Regions from separate parts of the Homo sapiens genome. Here regions 2 and 3 are each linked to region 1. The links are contacts of gene promoters, found by promoter capture Hi-C in human tissues and cell types (Jung and others, 2019). All regions are on one chromosome and are shown on one strand. The core of a region is centred on a gene start or on the middle of the fragment in contact, and the rest is flanking DNA. Distances in the headings are between cores, read along the strand shown.

What was found. The method cuts DNA at HindIII sites, captures the fragments that hold promoters and counts their contacts. A contact is called where the count stands out against the background at its distance.
Region 2: a fragment that was not itself captured here is called in contact with the fragment with the promoter of ZFP42 in region 1 in 1 of the 25 tissues and cell types used here (pancreas).
Region 3: a fragment that was not itself captured here is called in contact with the fragment with the promoter of ZFP42 in region 1 in 2 of the 25 tissues and cell types used here (pancreas and small bowel).

What each region holds. Positions count from the first base shown.
Region 1 is chr4:187,993,968-187,998,077 of GRCh38, forward strand. ZFP42 (ZFP42 zinc finger protein) reads left to right here and starts at 1,804. Exons shown (of 4, transcript NM_174900.5): 1 at 1,804-1,873. RefSeq lists enhancers at 992-1,971, 1,972-2,953, 2,568-2,862. The HindIII fragment of the contact is 6,716 bases long and covers 425-4,110 here.
Region 2 is chr4:187,951,850-187,955,959 of GRCh38, forward strand. The region is part of intron 2 of LOC124900881 (a long non-coding RNA gene); the gene reads right to left. Among named protein-coding and RNA genes, the nearest start is that of ZFP42, 42 kb to the right of the region's middle. The HindIII fragment of the contact is 8,612 bases long and covers 1-4,110 here.
Region 3 is chr4:188,036,302-188,040,411 of GRCh38, forward strand. No RefSeq gene overlaps it. Among named protein-coding and RNA genes, the nearest start is that of ZFP42, 43 kb to the left of the region's middle. The HindIII fragment of the contact is 5,516 bases long and covers 1-4,110 here.

The sequences.
Region 1 (4,110 bases), core at 554-3,053:
ATCTCCAAGGGAAACAAAAAAAAAGGCTGGTGGAATTCCCCTGTAGTTTCTAAAGAGGCCACAGCAAGGCGCCATAGAGACAGAAGGAGGGAAGTTGAGGGAAGTCCTTCTGACTGGTAAATCGGCTTTCTGACCCTCGTCTGCAAATAATACATTCTAAGGTAAGGAACTAAGGAAGCTTTATTGAAATCGGATTTCAAATGGAGAGGTCCTGCTATGCCTACTGGAGGAGATCAGGGAATAATAAATATTTCCTTCATTGAAAATTATATCCTATTGGCCAGGCGCAGTGGCTCACGCCTGTAATCCCAACACTTTGGGAGGCCGAGACAGGCGGATCACCTGAGGTCGGACCAGCCTGCCAACATGGAGAAACCCTGTCTCTACTAAAAATACTAAATTAGCCGTGCGTGGTGGTGCATGCCTGTAATCCCAGCTACTGGGGAGGCTGAGGCAGGAGAATCACTTGAACCAAATAGGCGGAGGTTGCAGTGAGGTGAGACGGTGCCACTGCACTCCAGCCTGGGGGACAGAGAAAGACTCCGTCTCAAAAAAGAAAAAAAAAGAGAAAGAAAAGAAAGGAAGGAAGGAAGGAAGGAAGGAAGGAAGGAAGGAAGGAAGGAAGGAAGGAAGGAAAATTATATTTTATTGGCCAACCTCAAAATTGAAGCTTATTCAGAAACAGATTTAAAAAAAGAAAAAAGTGGAGAACTGCTCCCAGATATATATGCAGAAAAGCTTCAAGTCAACATTTAGGAGGTTTTTAAATATCGATCTGGGTTTCGTTCTAATGGTCTGGGTGTACTTATACGACCTATTACATTTCACTAGACTGTAGCCAATAGTGAGCGTTGACTGACCATTGCTTTCAAAGTGAGTTGTGTTGCCTTTAGCAATACAGTCACATTAATGGCCAGAAAAAGAAAAAAGAAAACAAACACTGGGGGTGTTTGAAACAACTGGGGGTAGGGTGGGGTGGGAAAGGTGTGGGGGTTTGCGTTCGAGTCAACCTCTATTTCGGGGGGTAAAAACTGCCTCCTCCGCTTGATTTTTTTCCTCGATCTGCAAAAGCGTAAATGTTTTGTTTTGTTCTATTGAGATGGAGCCTCGCTCTATCACCCAGGCTGGAGCTTAGTGGCGCGATCTCGGCTCACTGCAACCTCCGCATCCCGGGTTCAAGCGATTCTCCTGCCTCAGCCTCCTGAGTAGCTGGGATTACAGGCGAGCACCACCATGCCTGGCTAATTTTTGTATTTTTCGGTAGAGACGGGGTTTCGCCATGTTGGCCAGGCTGGTCTCGAACGCTTGACCTCATGTGATCCCCCCGTCTCGGCCTCCCAAAGTGCTGGGACGACAGGCGTGAGCCACCGCGTCCGGCCTAAAAGGGTAAATGTGATTACACCCACGCGTATTTGTTCAACAGACATTTATTGAGCGCTCACCACGTGCCAACGCCGGGCGTCTGGGCTCTGGAGGCGCTGCCACGTGGCGGATGCGCAGTGCCCGGCGGCCGGGCTGAGGGGTGAACGCGGGGGTCAGGGGGCCCCGGGCTGAGGGTTTGCGTGCGGGCCGGGTGCCTGGGGGCCCCGGGCTGAGGGTGAGCGCGCCGCCCAGGTGCCAGGCGGCTCCGGGCAGAGAGTGAACGCGCGGGCCAGGTGGCTCCAGGGCGGCGCCCCAGGGCGGGGCCGGCCACGCCCTCCCTAACCCTGGCGGAGCTGATGGGTGGCTGTAGCCTGATTAGACCGCGTCAGTCCGGAGGGTGGGTCTTGGGAGGGGGCGCAGGGCAGTCCACGTTTCCACTGCAGTTTCTCCTTTGTTTTACGTTTGGGAGGAGGTGGCATTGGAAATAGCAGAGTGCTTCGCGGTAACAGGGGTGAGTCTTGTTTCATGGAACTTTTTTCAAATGGGGAGAAGGGGGTTGTGTTGCTCACTACTTGGAATGTGTCGGTCAAAGGGGTTAGATAGTCAGGGAGGGGAAGCGTGTTCTCATCCTGGGACCAGGCCGGAGCCGGCCTCGCCGGGAGACTTGTAGCCCTCGCCCTGCGGTGACCCGTGGCTGGCCACTGGCCTCAAATGTTGAAAACGGGCAGATGGGCAAGTAATACACTCTCAAGAAAGCAAGTGTCTGGCGGTGATTTCCTAAATTGCATTTTTTATTTTATTTCAAAACTTCATGTAAATATGTTTCCTTACAATATCTGGCTAAGTCTTTTCTATATTAACATGCTTACATTGTGATCAAGACACCAGTCTCTTCCCTTTCTTTTCCTCTCCTCTTATCTCTGGAGATGGCAATACCCCCAACTCAAATTACTCTAGCAAAAAACCTAGGAGACTCTTTCTTTTCTTTTTTCTTTTTTTTTGGAGACAGTCTCGCTCTGTTGCCAGGCTGGAGTGCAATGGCGCGATCTCGGCTCACTGCAACCTCCGTCTCCCGGGTTCAAGGGATTCTCCTGCCTCAGCCTCCCAAGTAGCTGAGATTACAGGCGCCCTTCACTGCGCCCGGCTAATTTTTGTATTTTAGTAGAGACGGGGTTTCACCATGTTGGTCAGGCTGGTCTCGAACTCGTGACCTCAGATGATCCGCCCGCCTCAGCCTCCCAAAGTGCTGAGATTACAGGCGTGAGCCACCGCGCCGGGCGAGACTCATTCTTGATTCCTGTTTCCCTTCCGCTCTTCATCCAATCCACCGGCGAGCTGCAGGGCGAGGGGGTGGTTCTTTCTCCTGTTTTCCCGCTCTCCCTGCATTTCATCTCCTCTGCCGCCATCTGCTCCAAACCCCTGGCAGCCCTTCGCGGGATTCCCAAATCTAATAGATTTTTCTGTTCTCCCCAAATCCATTCTCCATGCAGCTGTCCGGCCCATCTTCTAACCTAAAAAAACTTGCTGTTTGCTTGTTGGAAGCCCTGTAATGGTTTCCTTGGGACCTGGGATGAAATGCAAATGGTCCCGGGGCTCACCGTCAGCCCCGCGCCTGGGCCTCGCCCCAGCCCCCACCTTCCTGCCCGCCATAGCTGTAGGGAGCATGGAGCATGGAGCGTGGAGCGTGGAGCATGGAGCATGGAGCGTGGAGCATGGAGCATGGCCTGCAGCCCCCGGGGAGCGCCGGCAGCCTGGAACCAGCAGGCTTCGCTCGTCTCTTCCCACCCCCGTGCACTTTTCCTCCTGCCCACATCTGGCTCCGATGGCCCCCTCCTTGGGGGCCTTTTCCAGACATTCATGATGAAGGTGGCGTCCTCGGTTACTTCCCCTCTCATATTCTTTTTTTTTTTTTTTTTTTTTTGAGACAGAGTTTTGCTCTTGTCGCTTGGGCTGGAGTGCAGTGGCACGATCTCGGCTCACTGCAACCTCCGCCTCCTAGGTTCAAGCGATTCTCCTGCCTCGGCCTCCCGAGTAGCTGGGACTACAGGCGCCCGCCACCACGCCCGACTAATTTTTTTTATTTTTAATAGGGTTTCACCATGTTGGCCAGGATGGTCTCGATCTCCTGACCTCGTGATCCGCCCGCCTCGGCCTCCCAAAGTGGTGGGATTACAAGCGTGAGCCACCGCTCCCGGTCCCACCCCGCCCCGACCTTTTTTTTAATAGCATTTTTCTCAATCTGACATTTTTTGTTTATTTGCCCTTTACTGTCTGTCCCACACCAAACTTTGTGTTAACGAGGAACTTTGCATCTTTTTCCCTAAGTTCAGCACCTAGAACGAATACTAAATGTATATGAAGATTTCGTCCACATCCGCTTTTACCAGTATGTTTTCCATGTACAGTCAAGTTCCATATAAGGCCGTTTCAGTCAGTGAGCAACCCCACGTACTATGGTGGTCCCATAAGATTATAAAAGAGCTGAAAAATCCCCATGGCCTAGTGACATCTTCATGATCCTGAATTTGTGTAGGCCTAGGCTCATGTGTGTGTTTGTCTCTTCGTTTTTAACGTAAAAGTTTTTAAACAGACAAAATTTTACAGAATAAGAATATAAAGAAAAAATATTTTTGTACAGGTGAAAAAATGTTTGTGTTTTAAGCTAAGTGTTATTACAAAAGAGTCAGGAAGTTTGCACATTTTTAAGTTTATAAAGTTAAAAAGAGTCTGGGCGCGGTGGCTCACGCC
Region 2 (4,110 bases), core at 578-3,077, 42 kb before region 1:
ATCAGATTTTGTTGGAAGTATCCTGTTTGCTAAAACCTTGATATCTGATGCACTTAGCATAGAAATCAGGCTGGAAAAACGAATTTGTAATAGATATCTAAAACTAAAAAATGTAAGAGTCAGAAGCTTAAATTTTTACCTCTTTTTGGACGGATGTTTTTCTAAAATAAACATTTTCCTGCCTTTTCAAGTAAAAACATTGACAATAATAAAAATGTCCCTTAATCATCCTGAATCATTAGATATTAGTTTTATTCTTCATGTAATTGACTCAGTGGTGTTTAGGACTAGTGGTCTCTAACTTCAACAAGTGTGGGATGGTCCATGGCGTGAAAAGAGGGATAGGGTTTGTCTGACCCTCTCTAGTGGGGATGACCCACGGCCTTTGCTGATGCCTGAAGCCTACAGCAAGGCAATGTGTACAAACAGTGGCTTCACCTTCCAGAACATTTTCTTTCTCTCTGTTCTTAGTAGTTTTGACTTGTCCACACCATTCAAGCTAAGTGTCCTTTATAACAATAAAGTTGAAACTAGCAAAAACGTCCAACTCTGTGTGGTTCATTAAATACTATACTGTTGTGAGCAAGGATGTAATTTTTGTCAGGGATGGGCTTCCCCCATGCCCCCTCTAAGATTACATAATACCCAAAATTACATAAGATTACACCTAAGATTACATAATACCCAAAAGAAAGGGTAGCCCTAAAATAGTGATGCTGAGGAGATACTAGTTACATGAAAAATGATCACAAAAACAATAAGAACTCACATGACAGATTTTTCACTTTTAAAAATGTATTTTACATAATAGTTTGATATAAATACATTCTATGGGAGAATAATATATATATTTATATCAAATATTTAACGTCTAGATTTTTTTAAGTTAAAATAACCTCCTTGAGCACCCAGTTACACTTTCTTTCCTTCCATATCTTCTTTCGATTCCACTTCCCTGACCATATGTGAGCACTGTTTGTGCTTTCCAAACATTTTCCTAGACATCAGCACACACACACACACACACACACACACACACAGTTCAAATATAAAATGCTGCTTTTTCCAAAAATGTGATCATATCCTATTAAATGACCTGCCTTTTTTCCACTTATCTGTGAAAACTTTTTATGTCAATACATATATATATGCATTATATATATGCATTTTATACACACACACACACACACACACACACATATATATCTGCCTCGGTCTTTTTAATTGCTGTGGTGTATTACATATCATGTGTACCATAATTTTTTTTTTGAGATAGAGTCTCGCTCTGTCACCCAAGCTGGAGTGCAGTGGCATGATCTCAGCTCATTGCAGCCTCTTCCTCAAGTTCAAGTGATTCTCCTGCCTCAGCCTCCCAAGTAGCTGGGATTACAGGCTTCTGCCACCATGCCCAGCTAATTTTTATTTTTAGTAGAGATGGGGTTTCGCCACGCCGGCCAGGCTGGTCTCGAACTCTTGACCTCAAGTGATCTGCCTGCCTCGGCCTCCCAAAGTGCTGGGATTACAGGAGTGAGCCACCGCCCCCAGCCTTCAGACAGTATATATTTTTGTTAAATCCAATTCTTCACTGTTAAAGAATACTATTTTACATTAATCTTTGTATATACATGTGACTATAATGAATATCCTTTGTACATAATATGTGCTCTTTCTCCCTACTCATACGTAAAATTACTGGGTGAAAGGTTACATTATATTTAAATCTGACATATACTTGCAAATGCCCCACCAAAAAAGCCCTGAAATTTGAATTCCCACTATCAGTTTTTGAAAGTTCCTATTCTCTTACCTCTTCCTCCATGCTGAATATTATCAGTCTTTTTCATTTGTCCTCATCTCATGAATAAAAATTACATTTGTCTTAATTTAATCTGCCTTATTAACTAGTTTTATGTGATACTAAGTATAATTTTCTGTCATTACATGTTTTCTATCAGATTTGTTATCTTTTATTGATCTTTATGTGCTTGATATTATCATAGAGATTAATGCTGTATTGTAAATAATTTTCCCATGATTTTTCATTGTACTTTTTCATGTGGGTTTTTGACATAGATGCTTTAGATTTTTATATAGACATATCTGTCATTTTTTTCTTTATGAATTCTTAGCCTATGTTTAGCATAGATTTTTCCAATGTTGAGATTAAAAATATTTTCTATTCTCATGAAATTTCCTTTAACATTGTTATAATTTTGTAATCTATTTTTATCTCTATAATTCATCTGTAGTTTTTCTGGTTTGAGGTGGGAATCTACCCTTAATTTTTTGTTTGTGTCAATTGATAACCAGTAGTCTCAATCATAACCTTTCCTTATTGACTTGAAATATAATGCGTAACAGCTGCCAAAATGTATAGGTCTATACCAATTTTCTTCTAGACTTTCTATTGTCTTCCTTTCATTTATTTATTAATTTTTGTACCAATGCTGCAGTATTTTAATTATGTTTGTCTTGCAGCATATTCTAATCTCTGGTAGGACCTTTCCTTTTACTATTTAATTTTTTTACTTTTACCTCCCACCTCAACGTCCTGAGTAGCTGAGACTACAGGCATATGCCACAACACCTGGCTAGTTTTGTTTGTTTGTTTCGAGCTCCTGTAAAAATAATAACTATTATTTATTGGAAAATCTCTACACCTCAGGGACTATGTGAAGCATTTTTACATGAACTATTTTATTTAATCCTCATAATGGCCCTCTGAGAAAGTGTAATGAGTTGAATGATGGCCACTCAGAGGATATGTCCATGTCCTAACTGCTAGAACCTGTGGACGTGACTTTTGTTGGGAAAAGAGTCTGATGATGCAATTAAGGATTTCAAGATCATATCATCCTGGATTATCCAGGTGGATCTTAAATCCAATGACAGTTGTCCTTATAAGAGAAAGTCAGAAGGAGATTTGATGCAGAGGTGATTGTGTATTTAGAAACCCCATCGTCTCAACCCAAAATCTCCTTAAGCTGATAAGCAACTTCAGCAAAGTCTCAGGATACAAAATCAATGTGCAAAAATCACAAGCATTCCTATACACCAATAACAGACAGGGAGCCAAATCATGAGTAAACTCCCATTCACAATCGCTATAAAGAGAATAAAATACCTAGGAATCCAACTTACAAGGGATGTGAAGGACTTCTTCAAGGAGCACTACAAACCACTGCTCAACGAAATAAAAGAGGACACAAACAAATAGAAGAACATTCCATGCTCTTGGATAGGAAGACTCAATATCGTGAAAATGGCCATAGTGCCCAAGGTAATTTATAGATTCAATGCCATCCCCATCAAGCTACCAATGACTTTCTTCACAGAATTGAAAAAAACTACTTTAAAGTTCATACGGAACCAAAAAAGAGCCCACATTGCCAAGACAATCCTAAGCCAAAAGAACAAAGCTGGAGGCATCACGCTACCTGACTTCAAACTATGCTACAAGGCTACAGTAACCAAAACAGCCTGGTACTGGTACCAAAACAGAGAGATAGACCAATGGAACAGAACAGAGGCCTCAGAAATAACACCACACATCTACAACCATCTGATCTTTGACAAACCTGACAAAAACAAGAAATGGGGAAAGGATTCCTTATTTAATAAATGGTGCTGGGAAAACTGGCTAGCCATATGTAGAAAGCTGAAACTGGATCCCTTCCTTACAGCTTATACAAAAATTATTTCAAGATGGAGTAAAGACTTAAATGTTAGACCTAAAACCATAAAAACCCTAGAAGAAAACCTAGGCAATACCACTCAGGACATAGGCATGGCAAGGACTTCATGTCTAAAACACCAAAAGCCAAAATCGACAAATGGGATCTAATTAAACTAAAGAGCTTCTGCACAGCAAAAGAAACTACCATCAGAGTGAGCAGGCAGCCTACAGAATGGGAGAAAATTTTTACAATCTACCCATCAGACAAAGGACTAATATCCAGAATCTAAAAAGAACTTAAACAAATTTACAAGAAAAAATCAACCCCATCAACAAGTAGGCAAAGGATATGAACAGACACTTCGCAAAAGAAGACATTTATGCAGCCAACAGACATATGAAAAAATGCTCACCATCACTGGCCATCAGAGAAA
Region 3 (4,110 bases), core at 1,185-3,684, 43 kb after region 1:
GGTGAAACCCCATCTCTACTAAAAATACAAAAATTAGCCAGGTGTGGTGGCTCGCACCTGTAATGCCAGCTACTGGGGAGGCTGAGGTAGGAGGGTCACTTGAACCCTGGAGGCGGAGGTTGCAGTGAACCGAAATTGTGCCACTGTTCTCTAGCCTGGGTGACAAGAGCGAAACTCCATCTGAAAAAAACAAAAACAAAAAAACCCAGAAATCTCTCAATTAAAAATGGATCCTGAATTTCATCTTTTAATTTTATATGTATTCTGAAATGCTATCAGAAACAACTATGAATAATGGAGATGAGAGATTTCAAAGAATTTTTACAAAGAAGGCAATAATGATCTAGAGCTTGACTCTAGCTCTGTGTAAAATAAAGCTTGATAAGTAGTTGTTATCGGCCGGGCACGGTGGCTCATGCCTGTAATCCCAGCACTTTCGGAGGCCACGGCTGGCGGATCATCTGAGGTCAAGAGTTCAAGGCCGGCCTGGCCAACATGGCGAAAACCCATCTCTATAAAAATACAAAAATTAGCCGGGTGTGGTGGCAGGCACCTGTAATCCCAGGTACTCGGGAGGCTGAGGCAAGAGAATCGCTTGAACCCGGGAGGCAGAGGTTGCAGTGAGCCAAGATTGCGCCATTGCACTCCAGCCTGGGCGACAGAGCTAGATTCTGTCTCAAAAAAAAAAAAAAGAATTCATTATCTCCAACATGTTTACTATAGCTGGGGAGCAAAGTGAACATAAATTGAGTATAAAAGGTAATTCATAATGAAGAGCTAAATTGTGTTGTGAAGACTGAGGATGTTACAGTTCAAAGCACTGAGGGCTAGAGCAGCAAAGACGGCTTCGTTTGTAGTGAAGTGCCTTCAACCACTCCTCACCCCAGTTGCCTGCTTCGTAGGCATACCTCTTCAGGAAAATCACTAATTTATACTCTCCAAGAATACATGAGTGTGCTACAAAGAAAAAAAATTAATGGTAAAAATATTTATAGAAAAAATCGTTTGAAGTGAATTATTATACATTTTTTAGATGTGATGATGGCATTGTGATCATGTTTCCGAATTTTCCTTATCTATTAGATAAATAAAATAGTTCTTCATGATATGAAATGTCGAAAATTTTCTTCAAAATACTCCAAAAATAAGTTTCCTGGCACAACTTTTAACTTTGCCAAGCGCAATGACTCATGCCTGTAATCTCAGCACTTTGGGAGGCCGAGGCGGGCCAATTACTTGAGCCCAGAAGTTTGAGATGAGCCTGGGCAACATAGTGAGAGACTGTTTTTACAAAAGTAAAAAATATATTTAAAAAAATAAAATACTAGGTGGATGTGGTGGCGCATGCCTGTAGTCTCAGCTACTCAGGAGGCGAAGGTGGGAAGATTGCTTGAGCCCAGAAGGTCGAGGCTGCAATAAGCCCTCCAGCCTGGGTGACACAGCAAGACCCTGTCTCAAAAAAAAAAAAAAAAAAAAAAAAGAAAAAAAAAAAAAGAAAAAAAGTAAAAAGAAAAGATAAGCTTAACAAAAAAGAAAAGAAACTTTTAACCTTTAGGTTGATTAAATTTCTACGAGATTTTCTGATTTTTCTCATGGGCTAATAGTCATGAGAGGTTAGAGGTTTATGATAAGAATTTTTTTTTTTTTTGAGACTGAGTCTCACTCTGTAGCCAGGCTGGAGTGCAGTGGCGTGATCTCAGCTCACTGCAACCTCCGCCTCCCAGGTTCAAGCGATTCTCCTACCTCAGCCTCCTGAGTAGCTGGGACTACAGGCACCCACCACCACGCCCGGCTAAATTTTTGTATTTTTAGTAGAGATGGGTTTTTGCCATGTTGGCCAGGCTGGTCTCAAACTCCTGACCTCAGGTGATCTGCTCGCGTTGGCCTCCCAAAGTGCTGGGATTAATACTATCAAATTGCCTTTTTGTTTTGCTAATATTTAATACTCATGATAAAAAGATTTTAGACTGTAGCAGGTTTTTCTTTTTAACCCTGGTTATATTATTTGGCATGATTCAGATGTTGAAGTAGCCTCAATTTTAAAATTCTGCCAGGCGTGAAAAGGCATCCGCCCTCTAGCTTACTTTACCTGGCCACTGCTTGTATAGCTTACGAGGTTTAATCTTGTCATTTCTGGTTGAGAGAAGCAGATTTTCACCCACATGTAGGGTTTTAGCTATGTTTGTTTTTTCTAAACAGAGCCAACTGTTAATTAATTTCTAAGAGTAGGTAATACATGCATGCACCCATTACAAAAGTAGAAAAACAAAATGATTTACAATGCAAAGCAAATCTCCCTCTCATACCAAGCCCCCAGCTACCCAGGCTCCAGCCTGCTCACTTAACTTTGGTCAATTGAGATCAGTTTACACTCCTTCATTGTTTCATAACCTCTTGGAAAGTTCTCGTAACAGGAAAATGTGGCTGCATTTTCAATTCTGACCTGTTTCTCTAAATAGATCACATTCTCTAATCTTTCTATGACTTTTCTTTCTTTCTTTTTTTTTTTTGAGACAGAGTCTCGCTCTGTTGCCAGGCTGGAGAGCAGTGACACGATCTCAGTTCACTGCAACCTCCGCCTCCTGGGTTCAAGCGACTCTCCTGCCTCAGCCTCATGAGTCACTGGGATTACAGGCACGTGCCACCATGCCCGGCTAATTTTTTGTATTTTTAGTAGAGACAGGGTTTCACCATGTTGGCCAGGATGGTCTTGATCGCTGGACCTCCTGATTTGCCCACCTCAGCCTCCCAAAGTGCTGGGATTACAGGCGTGAGCCACCGCATCCAGCCAACTTTTCTTAATTTAAGATGGACTTCTATCTCACTGTGTAAGTAAAGCTCAAGGCATCATTTATTCTTTTAATATTCACTTCCTCTCACTTCTACAGGATGTAAACTGTCTCAACTCTTTTTCTTCGTTTGTAAGCTGTGATCGTTTCTTAATTTGTTTTATTATTTTTATTGCCTTCTCTGTTTTCCTAAAATAGTTTCTAAATTTTAAATGAACTTTTAATTTTAGAAAAGTTTTAGATTTACAGCAAAGATGAAAAGATAACACACCCTCACTCCCAATTTCCTGCATTGTTAACGTTGTACATTATGATGGTATATTTGTTACAACTCAAGACCAACACTGACGTATTATTATTGACTAAACCCCACACTTTATTTCATTTTACTAGTCTTCCCTTCTATCCTTTTTCTGTTCCAGGAGGCCATCAGGATCCCACATTACATTTAGATATGTGTCTCCTTACATTCCTCTAGTTTATGACAATTTCTCAGACTTCCCATTTTGATAACCCTGGCAGTTTCAGGAGTACTGGCCAGGCCCCTATACAAAGTTCTTCCATCTTGGTTTGATGTTTTTATGAATAGACTGAGGTTATGGGTGATTGGGGAGAATATCACAACACTGAAGTAGCATTCTTTTTTTTTTTTTTTGAGACGGAGTCTCGCTCTGTCGCCAGGCTGGAGTGCAATGGCGCCACCTCAGCTCACTGTAACCTCCACCTCCTGGGTTCAAGTGATTCTCCTGCCTCAGCCTCTGGAGTAGCTGTGGACCACCACGCCCAGCTAGTTTTTGTATTTTTAGTAGAGATGGGGTATCACTATGTTGGCCAGGCTGGTCTCGAACTCCTGACCTTGTGATCCGCCTGCCTCGGCCTCCCAAAGTGCTGGGATTACAGGCATGAGCCACCGCGCCCGGCCTGAATATGATATGATTCTTACCATATCATATCCGGGTGCATGCCATCAACCTGACTCTTCCCTGATGCAATTAACACCTTGACTGCCTGGCTGAGGACTGCTTGTCAGGCTTCCCCCTGAAAAATTACCACTCCTCCACCTCTTTTCCATAGTCTTGAAACAAGCTGCTGGCATCACCTACACTTAGGGTAGAGAGGAATTCAGCTCCACCTCATCGAGGGGGGAAATATTTACATACATTATTTGGAATTCCCTATGGGAGATTTGTCTCTTCTTCACTATTCATATGCTAGATTTTCTGTGTATTACAGGGTTCTTTTTATACAGCAATTACCAAAAAAAAAAAAAAAAAAAAAAACCTGCCTACTGCCTACATATAAACATTTTTATCTGAGATAT